Regions from separate parts of the Homo sapiens genome. Here region 2 is linked to region 1. The links are contacts of gene promoters, found by promoter capture Hi-C in blood cells and fetal thymus (Javierre and others, 2016). All regions are on one chromosome and are shown on one strand. Each heading gives the region's core, a stretch centred on a gene start or on the middle of the fragment in contact. The rest is flanking DNA. Distances are from core to core; before and after follow the strand shown. Region 1 holds the start of ABHD17C (abhydrolase domain containing 17C, depalmitoylase). Region 2 overlaps ARNT2 (aryl hydrocarbon receptor nuclear translocator 2).

Region 1 (6,902 bases), core at 1,470-3,969:
TGCCCATAGAAAAATTACTGTTTTGTGAAGCATTGGCTTCAGGTATGTGGATACAGACGTGTATGTGTGCTTGATCAAAACGTAAAATGTGTTTCTTACTGTGAGGTTACAGTCAAAACAGTTTGAAAAGCACAAGACATGAGGATCTATAAGGTTCCTTCAAATTCTAAGCTTCGCATGCAGCCTTCAAATTCTAACCTTTTTTACAGGTGAATAAATTAACTTAGATATGAGTTCTGGTATAACATTAAATAAATCATGGGCAATCTTTAGACATACCATCAGATAATTCAAAGTTATCCGAAACAATTACCCTTAATTCAACTGATACACTATCAGATAATTCAACATTATCCAAAACAACGCCCCTTAATTCAACTAAATATGACCAAAAAAAAAAAAGTTTCCAGGAAATAACTACACTCCACGTAAGCTGTAACACAGACACACCTGTATATTTGGGGCAAAGGGTGAGCCATGTGAAAGGCTTTCATTGTAATGTGGACATGCACACACAGAAGCAATGTTCTATGGAAACTCTTCAATTAAAAAATCTACTCAAGGTAGGATTTTCATGTTTCAAATTTTAAAGATCTAATGCCAACCTTATTTTTAATACCTTTGCCAACAGCAAATTCTAGCAAGCTATAGACTGTGTGTGACACATACTTTTGAAACCCTTTACTGGAACAGGTGGCTTTTAACTACTTACAGACTCTGACCCAATGCATCTGCATATGATACATTCTCATCTGCCTAAGCCACTTTCGAAAAGCTATAATCCCAATGAGGGCATCCCCTTCAGGACTTCAGGAGGGCATAAACATGCAACATAGAGCAAATATTAAGTACTTCCCTGTTGGACAAGCCATTTTCCCAGACAGGCAAGGAGTCACTTAGGAACATATGCGTGAGTACGAATGAAAAAAAAAAATCATTAACGTTGGTGATGTGCATAAGCAAACAGGTTTTAGATAAAAACTATAGAAGGGTCCATGGCGACAATAATGCCCGGTGTACTTCCTCTGGGGACTCTTTCATCTGAAGAAATCAAATCTCATCATAGACATGGCCTCAGGTTATTTTCACCATCACTGCTATGAGGCAGGTCGGAAAGGTCACAGATACCCAAACTGGAGCACAAACAGGTAACCTGACCTGCACATGTATAAGACTTTTGTCTAATAGTGAATAAAAGTCAGGTTTTTGGTTTGCTTGTTATAAAACAACCAGGTCTAACCCCTAAACCATGCCCCCAGTTTGTGCCTGGCTCACAGATGGCCCACCCTAAACACTTTTCAGTCCTTCTGTGAATGCTAATTTAAGGTCAGAGATTTCCCAGCCCCTGCAAGTTTCAAACTTATCCTGGACTGTTATGGAGGCCGTGTGGAAGGTGCCAGGCCCACAGCTACCAGCTAACTTCCTGCCCCACAGTGCCACTACTTTGCCCCACCAGGAGGCAAACTCCCCGCTCCACCTGACGCTCCAGCTGTTTCCAAGGTTGCCCAGACATTGTCCTGCCCGCACTTTACAACCAGAAAGTCTTTTAGAGGCCATCCTGTCTCGCCCACTGACTTTACAGGGAAGGAAACTGAGTCTAGAAACCCATGTGCCTTGCCCAAGGTCACTTCAGCTCGTACAAACGAAACTCGAACCAAGTTGTTTCTTTCTGCCCGGTACTTAAGCACCCACACTCTGCCACTCGCGGTGACCGGAGCCACAAAAGACCCAGCCGGTGGGCCGGCGACACACAGGCGAGCCAAAGCAGGCAAAATTCTCTGAGTCCGAGCTCTCCAGGAACCTGAAGGCTGGCGCGGTTTTTGGAGAGGGTGGGAGCAAGCCAGGGTGGGACAAGAAAAGCGAATTTACGGCGGCCAAGGGGCTCTCCGCTGGCCCTCAGCCCCGGAGGAGGGGCCCCTCTCCTGGCAGGCCGCCCCAGGGGCCCCAAGAGACCCCCACCCCGCCTCCCCACAGCTGGAAGTCAGGCCTGGCGACCCCGGCAGGCTCACCGGGTGCGCAGCGCCTGCCACGCGGCGTCGATGTCGGCGTAGAGGTTCTTCTCGGAGGGCTTGCCCGAGCTGACGCCGTATCCCGAGTAGTCGTAGGAGAAGATGTTGCAGTTGATGCGGGAGCCGAGGCCAATGTAGAAGCTGCACATCTGGCCCAGGTCCACGGCGTTGCCGTGCGAGAAGAGCAGCGTGTAGCGGCTGGAGGGCGCGCAGCGCACGAACATGCAGCCGAGCCGGTTGTCCCGGGCCGTGCGCGAGAAGAAGACCTCGACGGCGTCCAGCTCGCGCTGCGAGTACTGCCAGTCGGCGCGCTCGCTGAGGTGCAGGCTGCACGCACCGGGCCCCGCGCCCGCGCCCTCCTCGGGCTGCTGCGGTGCCGGCTGGGCCGCGGCGGCGGCGGCGGTAGCCTGGGCCGGGGCCGGGGCGGACGCGCCGGCGCCGCGCTGCTCCGGCGCCAGCACCGTGTAGGTGGGCTCGGGCGGCAGGAAGGCCAGCTTGGCGGCGATGCGGCTCGGGCAGGGCGGGCAGCAGAAGAGCCAGCACAGCTCACCCAGCGAGAAGCCGTTCATCCTGGGGCCTGGCTCGGGCATCGGGACGGCCTGGTGCCCGCCGCCGGCCCGGCTGGCTGGCTGGCTGGCTGGCCCGGGAGGACGGAGGACGGACGCGCGGCGAGGGAGCTGGCAGGCGAGCGCGGAGGGCGGCTGCAGCCCGCCCGCCCGGCGGCAGGAGGAGGCGGAGGCGGAGGAGGGCAGGAGGCGGGGCCGGCCCGGCGGGCGCGGCGCTCGGAGCCCGGGCGGGTCAGCGGCGGCCCCGGAACCCAGGCGAGGCGCGGGCGGCCCGGGCCCGCGCGCGGCACACAAAGCCGGCGGCGGCGTCCATGGCCGGCTCGTGCGCGCCGCCCCCCGCTCCCGTTCCCGCTCCCGCACGCCCGCCGCCGCCGCCGCCGCCGCCGCCACTTCCGGGTTACCGCGCGGCGGCGCCGCCGCTGGGACGCGGCGCAGAGCCGGGCATCGGGGCGGGGCGCTGCGGGCAAGGGCGCGGGCACCTTCCCCGGCCTGGGAAGCACCTTCTCGACCTGCGGCCGACGGGGGCTTCCAGGCGGCTCCGGGGCCCGGAGAAGCTGGGTGCCGGGGCTGGGGGCTCTGCGCCCGGACAGCTGGGCCGATCTGCAGAGGGGACCCTGGAGGGGGTGCATGTGTCCCGGGGTGGACCGCTCCCCTCCCCTCCCCCTGGGATTCCCTCCCCCAAATCCAGGTTTCTCCCGTGGATGGAGGTTCTTGGGAGTCTACTGAAAAGGAAACTAAGGGGTGGACAAGAGTTGGAATGTGCCCGAAATATTTGGCTCTCGTGTGTGCTGCTTTCTGAACTGGCTCAGTACCAAAAGTTCTCAGCACCGTAAGGGGTACCGGGGTTGTGGGATAGGGTGGTCATCAGTGTGTTTCTTATTAGGAGAGGCTGTTTCTGTATAGGTAGCAACAGCGTTTCCTTTCTAAGGGCATGGTTTTACCCTTAGTACATTTCTGTATCTATAAAAGTCAGCTGTTAGAACAGGAGGGTACTGTATTTAGCAACAAACCATGTTGAGGTTGTCATTTCTAATCCCACGTGTGGCAGATTTTCCGGTAGTAAGTATATACTAGGTATCGTTTACAGTGTTTGTGTCTCTAGAGTTGTTTTGGGTCCAGGATTTTTCAGTGGTCTTAGTCATGAACGATTCTTATACTGCTTTAAATCTACTGTAATCTTGGCAGCCACCTTTACATGATTTTTCAAATATAACTCTCGGTGCCTTGAAACTGTGCTCTGGTGCCAGTTTCCACAGAGCCTTCTATACTTCCTTTTTCCCGCCTGATTTGGCAGCTGAAGAATTCCCTTTCAGGAACTGACAGGAGATACCCTTCCTGGACTGCCAGCAGGGCAGCTAGAGACTGGGAGGTTGGCACAATCCCTACGCTGGGTCTGTTGTTTTAACTCACAGATGTCCTGAGAATTTTACCTTTCGTTGTGACTTTCCACAGGACGAATATTTTGAGCACCGTCATCTAAATGAATTGCCGATACTGATTTCATTAACCTTCAGGACCTCGCTTTTAATTTTTTCTTTTTTAAGAGACAGGGTCTTACTGTATTGTCCAGGCTGGACTCCCAACTCCTGGGCTCAAATGACCCTCCGGCCTGCCTCCCAAGTAGCTAGGACTACCGGCACATGCCACCTTGCCCAGCTAGGACCTGGGTTTTAAAAGGCCATTTCTTCACTAAAACAATTTTACTTGTTTTTGAACTATTCAAACTTGATTTTTAAAAACCTGGTAACAAAGCCTGTCCAGATTGCATATTTGAAGTCTGTTTTGAAGGTTTTCACACTTGGTGAAACTCTTCACATAAAGCCCAATTCTAGCTTTGCAGGTTTGCATTTCCTTTTTTTTTTTTTTTTTTTTAAAAAAAGAATTTTTCTGCGAAAATCCTTTAAAAAGAAAAAAAAGCTTTATACAGCTGGGCACAGTGACTCACGCCTGTAATCCCACCACTTTGGGAGGCTGAGGAGGGTGGATCACTTCAAGTCAGAAGTTCAAGACCAGCCTGGCCAACATAATGAAACTCCGTCTCTACTGAAAATACAAAAATTAGCCGGCCATGGTGGCGTGCACCTACAATCCCGGCTACTCAGGAGGCTGAGGCACGAGAATCACTTGAAGCTAGGAGGCAGAGGTTACGGTGAGCCGAGATCATGCCACTGCACTCCAGCCTGGGTGACAGAGTGAGACTATGTCTCAAAAAAATAAAAAGGCTTTCTAACTTGCTACACATTGGTATACTTTGGTCACTTTATTGTATTCAGCATTTATGTATGTAATGTTTTTTGTGCTCACAGCATCCACTGTGTTAGGTGCTACAGCTACCAAGGTGAGTAAGATAGTCCCTGCTCTCAGATACCTTACAGTCTAATTAGGGCATCAGCAGAAGATTCAAAACAGTTTTTATGTGCCTTTAAAAAAAATCAAGTCCTCATAAAAGCTAAGAAGATGGTCTTGCGTCCTGATTCAGTGGTGATATTTCTATGGGGAGCTAAGGTTATAGTCGAGTGCATTAGTCCCTAATCTAATTCAGAACAAGAATCAAACTTTGGGAACTGAGATGAAAGGGTATCTAACAGCCCCCTAGTCAGTCTTTCTCAGATACCACTCCTCTCACCTGTCCTTTATAAGAATTGAATAGCCCTTAGTTCATGAAAGGGGGGAATGATGAGAGTCTCAAGTACTCGTCTTCTGTGCTGCTGATGGAAAAGACAGTCTTTATATTTCAGATGGCCTGGCAGCAGTGTTAGCATTGTTAGAAAAATCTAAAAGCTAGATACTTGTTTATTTATACCTGGTCTCATTCCACAAGGGATTTGTGGAGTGTGATTCAGTATAATATAAATACATAAGCAAATAAATAAAAGCCTGGCTTTTGTTTTCATTCTATTACAAGGCTACACAGAGGTGGGCTGAAAGAGCATTTATTCCCCAGGAAAACATGTTGGTTCAGGTTTGTGTAAATATTCAGTTGAGACCCTAAAATTATATGCCGTAGAGTGAAGCTACCAAGCCTTTCTTATCTCATGCCACATATAGCCAGTGGTAGAGTTTCTGTAGCCCACTGACATGAGACGTGCTGCCCAGGGGATAAGAGGTTAAAGATCTCAGCACGTCTCTAACATCTAACATCTTTAACAACAAATGTGTTAGTGTGCCTTGTCATGTTGGTTTGGAAACTTTAACATACAGCACATAAAGAATGCATTTGCCCTATAAAATGTGAAAATTGGGGATTACCAGCTGTCCACTTTGACCTTAAAGCAGCAGTCTCCAACCATTGTGGCACCAGGGACTGGTTTCATGGAAGGCAATTTTTTTCCATGAAAATCCTAGTTAGATTCTCATAAGGAGTGCGCAATCTAGATCCCTCGTATGCACTGTTCACAATAGGGTTTGCACTCCTATGAGAAGCGAATGCTGCCGCTGATTTGACAGGAGGCGGAACTCAGGCAGTAATGCTCACCCACCAGCTACCCACGTCCTGCTATGTGGCCCAGTTCCTAACAGGCCACTGACCAGTACAGGTCCACGGCCCGGGGTTTGGGGACCTCTGCCTTAAATTTCTATGTCATTCTGATCATCCTAGTAGAGAAAGATCTAACTTTGAGTTCAGGTCAGCAAACATATTTACTCTGCTAGGTACTTATCATGAGTCAGTCACTGAGTTGACTTGGGAATGTAAAGGTGGCTAATGCACAGCTCCTCCTGCCCTCAACAAGTGCATTGTATGATCTGTCTCTTAGGTAACTCTGTATCCTGCCAAGCCAGCCAGTATTGATGAACTAAACAATATTCCACATAACTAAATACCCTGATCTCTATTACTTAATATTGGCCCTTTACACACTGAATTTTGGCTTCCACACTAGTCAGCTGGATGTGGAGTTGCTCAAGACCACTTTTATTTGTAAAAGTAGAACCAACTTTTGACCATAAGAGGATACTCATGCTTAAAAACAGAATCTGGTTGTCTTGATGGAATCTAAGGTAATGTTGCCCCATTGTACATTTTTTTAAAAATTTGGGACTGGATACTCAGTGAAATCAGGGATCATGTGTATTTTGTTCATCGTTTCCCCTATGACTGGCATAGAGAAGATGCTCAGTAAATGTTAATTAAATTGCTAAATTAAAGAATGAGAGGCCAGGTGCAGGGGTTCCCACCTGTAATCCCAGCACTTCGGGAGGCTGAGGCAAGCAGATTGCTCGAGTTCAGGAGTTTGAGACCAGCCTGGGCAACGTGGCAAAACCCCATCTCTATAAAAAATACAAAAAGAAATTAGCCAGGTGTGGTGGTGCACTCCTGTAGTCTTAG
Region 2 (6,902 bases), core at 2,048-4,547, 230 kb after region 1:
CTACTCCAACCACGTGTCAGCTGCTCCCCACCCATCAGTATCACCAGGCAATAGCCATTCCTACTTATCTTCGATTCAGCACACGTGGAACTGCTCCCGTCCCTCAAAATTCCATCTGTGTCAAAGCTCTTGCAGCTGTTTCCTGGTTCTCTCCCACCTTCTCCAGTCCATGCCGACTGCCTGCTGTCATCACTTTTCCCCTTGTCACCAACCACCTTTTCCCAGCCTTTTTCTCCAGTCTCACCCTCCAGTTTAGTCCTCATGTTGTGGCCAGACTGATGTTTCTCAAAATACAAACCAGAGCCTTCGCTTAAACCCCTTCCATTGAGCCTCCAAACCCCTCAGCTGGTCACTGTGACCACTGCTTCAATGCAGGGCTGACGCACACTTGCTTCTGATACTATTATCCAAAGAGCTTGTCCCATAGTGGCACAGACCATCTTGCTTTATAAATATTCTGCAGGTGAAAAATCTTCATATGGGGAATCTTAAACAGAGATCTAAAGCAATTTCACCACAGTGCTCTGTGAACCCAATCTGTGAGATAAGGTGTATGAAGAAGATGGCCTTAGGGCAACTGCTTAAAAACTGATTGTATTTATTGCCTAGTCCAGAAAATGCTCCAAGTACTTTATATTTTATGAAATAATACTGAGTTACCAGCAGAATGTCAAAATGACTGACAGCTGCCAATTACTTAGCAACAAGATTTGATAAGTGAGTGACATACACATATGTATGTACGGTTTCATTCTGAAGCCTTCATCAAGGCAGCGGGGATGATGCCATCTTGGGAACACAGAAGGACATATCTCCAAGATCATGTTTGCTGGGGCAAGGCCATCTCTTCCCCAGAGTGAGGAGACAATTTGGGGTCTGCCTGGAGGAGCTGCAGGAGTGAGCCTGTGAACCTGGTGTCTGTGACTTGCGTGTGTACCACATGCTTGCTCGGGGCTGAGTAGCATCAATAAAGAAATTAACTCCTATGTACAGGGAAGCAGGACCAGGACTCCACAGAATTGACAGTTGGGGACACAGGTAGAGCTGTCAGTTTCAAAGACACCTCTGCTGTGCTAAGAGGACCCAGAGCTTGGCTCCAGGAGCACAGCTATGGAAATCAAGGCACAGAAAGAAGAGGTTCAACTAACTGCACACTGACTTGTGTTTCTTTTCCAACTCTGTTCCTGATGGGGACCTCCTAAGTTTAATCTGAACGGTGAGGTACCCATCTTAGTTAAAGAATACGAAAGGAGAATTTTATAAGATCTCAATAAAGAGCATCCTTAAACTGCTGACAGCCGTTGAGTCTCCTGTCTGCTATGGGAAGGGAACCTTAGACCCGGAGCAAGCAGACTGAATGAGACAGCCCCATGCTGGGAACTCCCTGATCACTGCAGACATGGTATACCTGGAGCATACTTCCAGTCTGGGAGTTACTGTGCTGGGTACTGGAGACGGGTGCTGGACAGGACAGAGAGCCCACGGAAAAGCAGGGGCAACAGAGAGTGAGCAGGTGCAAACACAATCCCTGTGTGGTTTCCTTGTACACTAAAAGGTCAGAAGAGGATGCTGAGAGTGTGCGATGGGGAGAGCTCCCTGTGAAAAAGTCCCAGGAAATACCCAGGAACCCTAGGACATGGGACACTGAAAGTCCCCACGCAGGCCTGGCTGAGAGGAGCCACGACATAAACCTAAGTGCTTCTGCAGCCTCCTCTTTGCTCATGTCAGGGTGATCAGGTGTGGGCACCTCAAGGCAGCAGGTGGGCTGATGCAGGATACTATGAGAGAGATATGACCAAGTCTAGCTCTAGCCAGGCCACCTACACTGCCATGGTCCAAATCTGAGAAGTCAGCACTTGAAATAATACGACTGGTCACTACACCTCACTGCCAGCTTCAGAGCTACATGAAGCTCTACACACGTGGAATGTCTGTAGAGCAGCCCTGCTGCAGATGGCACCAGGACCACATTTCTCCATGATGCCTCAGCTTCCATTTCTACCTCCTGAGGTCCACACCCCTCTCCAGGCCACAGCAGTCCAAACAACAGACCTGCTGAAAATAAACATAAAGCTTCTCCCCAACCTGGAGAAGCATCACCAAGCAGCTGCCACTCTCAAAGCCATCGGGCTTGGAAACAGGCCTCACTCAGGGCAGAATTTGTGCTCATTTCCCCAGATTGCACTAGAACTGGAAGACCAGACACCAGGAGTTTTTTCCTTTTCAGAATTCACCCAGCACACAGTGATAACCTCTGCTCTTGGACAATTCACCAAACTGTGCATGGCTCAAGTTACTGAACAAACAAGGCTTTCTGCCTGCAATTCCAGTAAAGGGCTTCAGCACTTCTCAAGCAAAGGAAGCATCAATCCCCGTCTTCCCCTACTAGGGATTTCTCTGTGAGATTTGACCAGTTAGGGTAGAGTCAGAACTGTAGGAAGAGACCCTTTGCATAGGCTCATACCACCTGGCCTTCAGAGGTAGCCTGGGGGAGTCATCAGACCAAGAGTGGCTGCGTGGGGGTCTACACATGAGTCCTGGTCAGCTGTCAGGAGCCTCTGGTGCAGTATTAGGCACAGACTGGCTCTGCCCCACCTCGGTGACACTCGGGAAGGAAGACTGTACCTTTCCAGGAACATCCTTCATGGCCAGTCGCTCCCAGGCATGCTGCAGGGCATTGTAAGAGCCATGAAGGCCAGAAGAAAGCCATTTCAGGAGCCCCATGGAGGCTGGTCAGATACCTGCAGAGAGGGCCCACTGAGGCATATTCAGTAAGGCAGTTTTCCCAGCTTCTGAGGCTGCTCCAGGAAGGGCAGAGGGTTGCTCTCTCCTTGAGAAGGAGGTAGGCATCCTGCTCCCCAGAAGCCATCCAAGGCCCAGGTTTCTGCAAGGCAACTACAAGATACCTGTGTGTCCAGGCTGAATGCAAGACTCACCCAAAACACAGGGAGGAGTCTGAGAAGCCCAGATCCTCCCAAGCAGGGACCCAGGCCCGGCACCTCTGACAATCCCTGTTCCCAGTGAGACACACATCTTGCATGTTTCTATAGCAACTTACAGCTTCCCAAGCACTCTCTCAGCACTGACTGCAATCGATCCTTGCAACCCCCCACCCCCAGCCCCCAATCGGGATGTATCTCCTTTCCCCAGAGGAGGAAGCTGAGGCTCCAAGGGTCACACTGACTTACCAGGACTGGGAACAGGCCTGCCAGTCACCTGCTGCCTCTCTCTCACCACCTCTCCCCAACAGAGCACTAACTGGTCCTAGTTCAGAGCTAGAATGCCCGGAGAGACTAGGGAGCAAAGATATTTAAGGCTTTATGGGGGAAGAATATGCCTAGCAGCTTCCAAAGAGACACAGCTCAGGACTGCTTATGATCCCAGAAGTGATTTCCTCCTCTCTCTCCAAAAAACTCTAGTGTTATCCAGGCACTATCATTTCAAATCAGGGTTAATCTCTCCAGCAGAAAAACTGAAGCGGGTAGCATAGCTAAACATGGTAAGAAACACATCAAGGTGCAGGTCCATCATGTGAGAGCCAAACATCTTGTATGAAGAAATCACACTGGCTGGGCACAGTGGCTCACACCTATAATCCCAGCACTTTGGGAGGCCAAGGCAGGCGGATCACCTGAGGTTGGCCAGCCTGGCCAACATGGTGAAACCCTGTCTCTACAAAAAATACAAAAAATTAGCCGGGCGCGGTGGTGCACACCTGTAATCCCAGCTACTCCGGAGGCTGAGGCAGGAGAATTGCTTGAACCCAGGAGGCAGACATTGCAGTGAACCGAGACCGCGCCATTGCACTCCAGCTTGGGCAACAAGAGCAAAACTCCGTCTCAAAAAAAAAAAAAAAAAAAAGGAAATCACCCATCCATATCAGCATGGTGTTAGAAAGCCACCCCTCCTACAAAATCTTTCATTCCAGTGTGTGCTAACCCTAACCCTAACCCTAACCCTAACCCACTGAAGCAACTTTAGTTGCTCATAAGCAACACTGTACCAAATTCTACCCAGCTTATCTGCAACACTTGTCTGGTTCATATGAACTGAGACTGTAGAGGCAGGGAGGAGGCATGGGAAGTTTGGAAGGGCTCCTCTTGGCGTTTGCTCTGCAACCTCTGAAAGGCTCGGCTGAATCTCTTCCTGCCTTACAAGGACCTCACGTACCCATCCAGTGTGTCCCACACATGGTAACTGATAAGATGAGGCCAGATAAAAAAAGGGGCACTCCTTGCTGCTGCCTGGTCATCCTCTCTGCCTTGGAAATACTTTAGGCGTCTTCTCACTTGGAAACAGAGTAACCCACTCTCTAGGCTAAGACGCTCAGACTAAGAATTCTGGAAACCCACAATCTTCTTTTCTTTCTGCCGGGAAAGACCTCTGCAGGACACGTCTACCTTGCATATTTTCCTTATCAACAGAGTTTTGGTCATGATACCTACTCACAAAGCAGGAATGATTAAAACTAAAACATCACCACAACCTATAAAGCCAGGGGGGAAAATGCCTACAAGCTTAAATACCACACAAAACCAAAAGGGAAGTACCAAAATGGACGTGATGAGAAACAAAAGGTCAATTCTGCAGAAGCTTTCCTACCGTGAATATCTTTACTTTTAGATAACTTTAGAGGTTCACTGGCTAACTCTACAAAATATAAGGCACAATGTTGGACTGGTGCAACTGGGTGCTACAATCTCACCAAAGAGCAGCCAATGGGGTCACTTGCAGCCATTTCTAAAAAGGTTAAAGAGAGGCCAGGAAGCCCCTTGATAAGGGATTTTGAGTCCGAGCTCTTAGGAGGCTCCAAGCACTGGAGCTGAATCCACAGCAACAGATACGAGAACTCCTTGGAAGGCCTTTAGGGTCTTTTGAGAAAGGGTGTGGAATGAGTCTGAAGGGAGCAAAAATATACAGATAATACACAGTGGCAAGAATTAAAGTTTGAGGACTGCATGCTTGTTTGTCCCCAAGTTGTAAATGTAACAAAAAGACAGTTACATTAGGAATGTTTCCTCTCTTTTGTTTTAATGACACATTACGCATACATTCACATACGTAAGGCACACGATGAGCACGGTGTATAATTTTGACTCTGTTGATGACAGCTCTGGGATGTTAGTAATGCCCCTTATGAAACAATATTTAAGATGCCTCCATGTACTGGTGGCAGCTGACCCCAGCTGCCGGTATGAGAAGGTGTCCTGGAACTCCCTAGAAAATGTATCAATCTAAGGGTCCATTAAAGTAGGAAGATGCCCCTGAACCACTCAGAGTGATGAAAAGGCTTTGGCCCTCTGCTTGAGTGTGAGGTTGCAGGACGTGCTGGGCAGGACTGGCATCTGCCTCCCAGGCACACCAGGGCCATCCACACAGGCACAGGAACCAGGGAGGGACTGGTGCCGACCTCACTATAGGAGGGTGCGGCACCACTACCAGCTGCCCGGGAGGATCATCTTTGGAGAAACACTTGCTGGAGTGTAATCGGCATTTTTCCAAAGACACAGGGTTTATCACCACCTGCTGTTAGGATCAGTGACTTGATAACTGGAATTCCAAGAGTGAGGTCAAGCCAAGCATTCCCAGTGGAGGCTGCTTTCTTGGCTGAGCCCAGGAAGAAAGGCTGGCTCTGCGACTTCACTCCTTTTTGCCTCCTTGGCAGAAAGGCCTCCTCCTCTGAAACTCGTGCCATCCGTCTCTGCCACCTTCTAGGCTCTGCATCATCATCACCACTGCCCACCCACACAGCCAGCCAGCCCCTGCCCCCAGACCACCCCCAAGACAGCCTCTGCAGGGGGTGATGCACACCCACCCATCTGTCTCCCCATGCCTCTGCTCCCAGGACTGACCTCGGCCTCCTCTACTGGACCTCGGCCAGCCTCTCCCATGGTGGTGGCTTCTCACTATTTGACCACAACTTCCTACTTTTCCAGCCCTCTCAAACTCCCACAAAATCAGAACTATTCTTTGACCGCATTGCTACTTCCCGTCCCCGGCCTCCTCCATTCTCTTCTCACTCCTCCGGCCTGCCGGCCTCCCTTCACTCCCTCTGCCATTGGACCCACAGCTTGGCCTCTTCAACCACCCTCTCATTGAGACCTTAACCACCTCGACTCCTGTCCTTCCATGGCACCTGCCCTAATCCTCAACCCTGAGTCTGAGAAAAGCCTCCATTCCCTGTATCCACACCGTTGGGTATTGCTGGAGGGAAATTGCACTTATACACATTGATGCCACCTCACATTGGTGGTCCACAATCTCAAATGGGGTCTAAAGTTTTTACATCTCTGTCTTCGGTTAGCCTCCTTCCTGTGAATTCAACCCAGGGCCACCCTAAACTTCGCTCTCAGGCACAATAGCAAACCTCTTCCCACCTGCGGCACACAGCCCCATTTCCTACCTAATCAAGACAATGGAAGCCACGAGAATTAATCCCTCCACTTCTGATGCACCCACAGCCTCGCACTTGGCCTCACCTGCAGCTCCTTCCTTCTGCCTTGGAGCATGAGTACTCCCTTCTGTGGGGCAGAGCTCTCTCCTCCTCCTCTGGACCCATCTCTCCCCAGCGTCACTCCTGAGTCTTCCAAATCTCTGGCTATCCCCATTACTTCTCCTCCTCACATGGATGTACTCATCCTTAAAAAGTACCCCTCCCGGAGCCCCTTCCTTTTTGATCTACATCCAAACTGCTCAAAGAGTTGTTCTCACGCATCTTCATGTCTTCATCTCCCCATCAGTCCTCAGCCCACTGCAGTCTGGCTTCTGTCCCCCGGGTCCCCGTGACTTTGTGTGGGGGGAAGGAAACTTCGAATGTAGGCAGAGCCATGTTCTGCATATCACAGCTCCCCGAATGGCATGAATCCCATGTGTGAGAAAGAGCTGAGGCCTTGGGATGTGGT

The links. Contacts are between HindIII fragments. The CHiCAGO score rates a contact against its expected background, and 5 or more counts as called.
Region 2: a contact is called between a fragment that was not itself captured here and the fragment with the promoter of ABHD17C in region 1, in 1 of 17 cell types (M0 macrophages). The highest score is 5.1, in M0 macrophages.

The regions. Positions count from the first base shown.
Region 1 is chr15:80,691,127-80,698,028 of GRCh38, reverse strand. ABHD17C (abhydrolase domain containing 17C, depalmitoylase) reads right to left here and starts at 2,719. Exons shown (of 3, transcript NM_021214.2): 1 at 2,010-2,719. The coding sequence starts at 2,599. RefSeq lists silencers at 1,896-1,955, 2,376-2,425, 2,516-2,935, 2,956-3,065, 3,086-3,245 and 1 more and an enhancer at 2,116-2,185. The HindIII fragment of the contact is 4,321 bases long and covers 174-4,494 here.
Region 2 is chr15:80,460,535-80,467,436 of GRCh38, reverse strand. All of the region lies in intron 3 of ARNT2 (aryl hydrocarbon receptor nuclear translocator 2), which reads right to left. Among named protein-coding and RNA genes, the nearest start is that of ARNT2, 60 kb to the right of the region's middle. The HindIII fragment of the contact is 2,444 bases long and covers 2,076-4,519 here.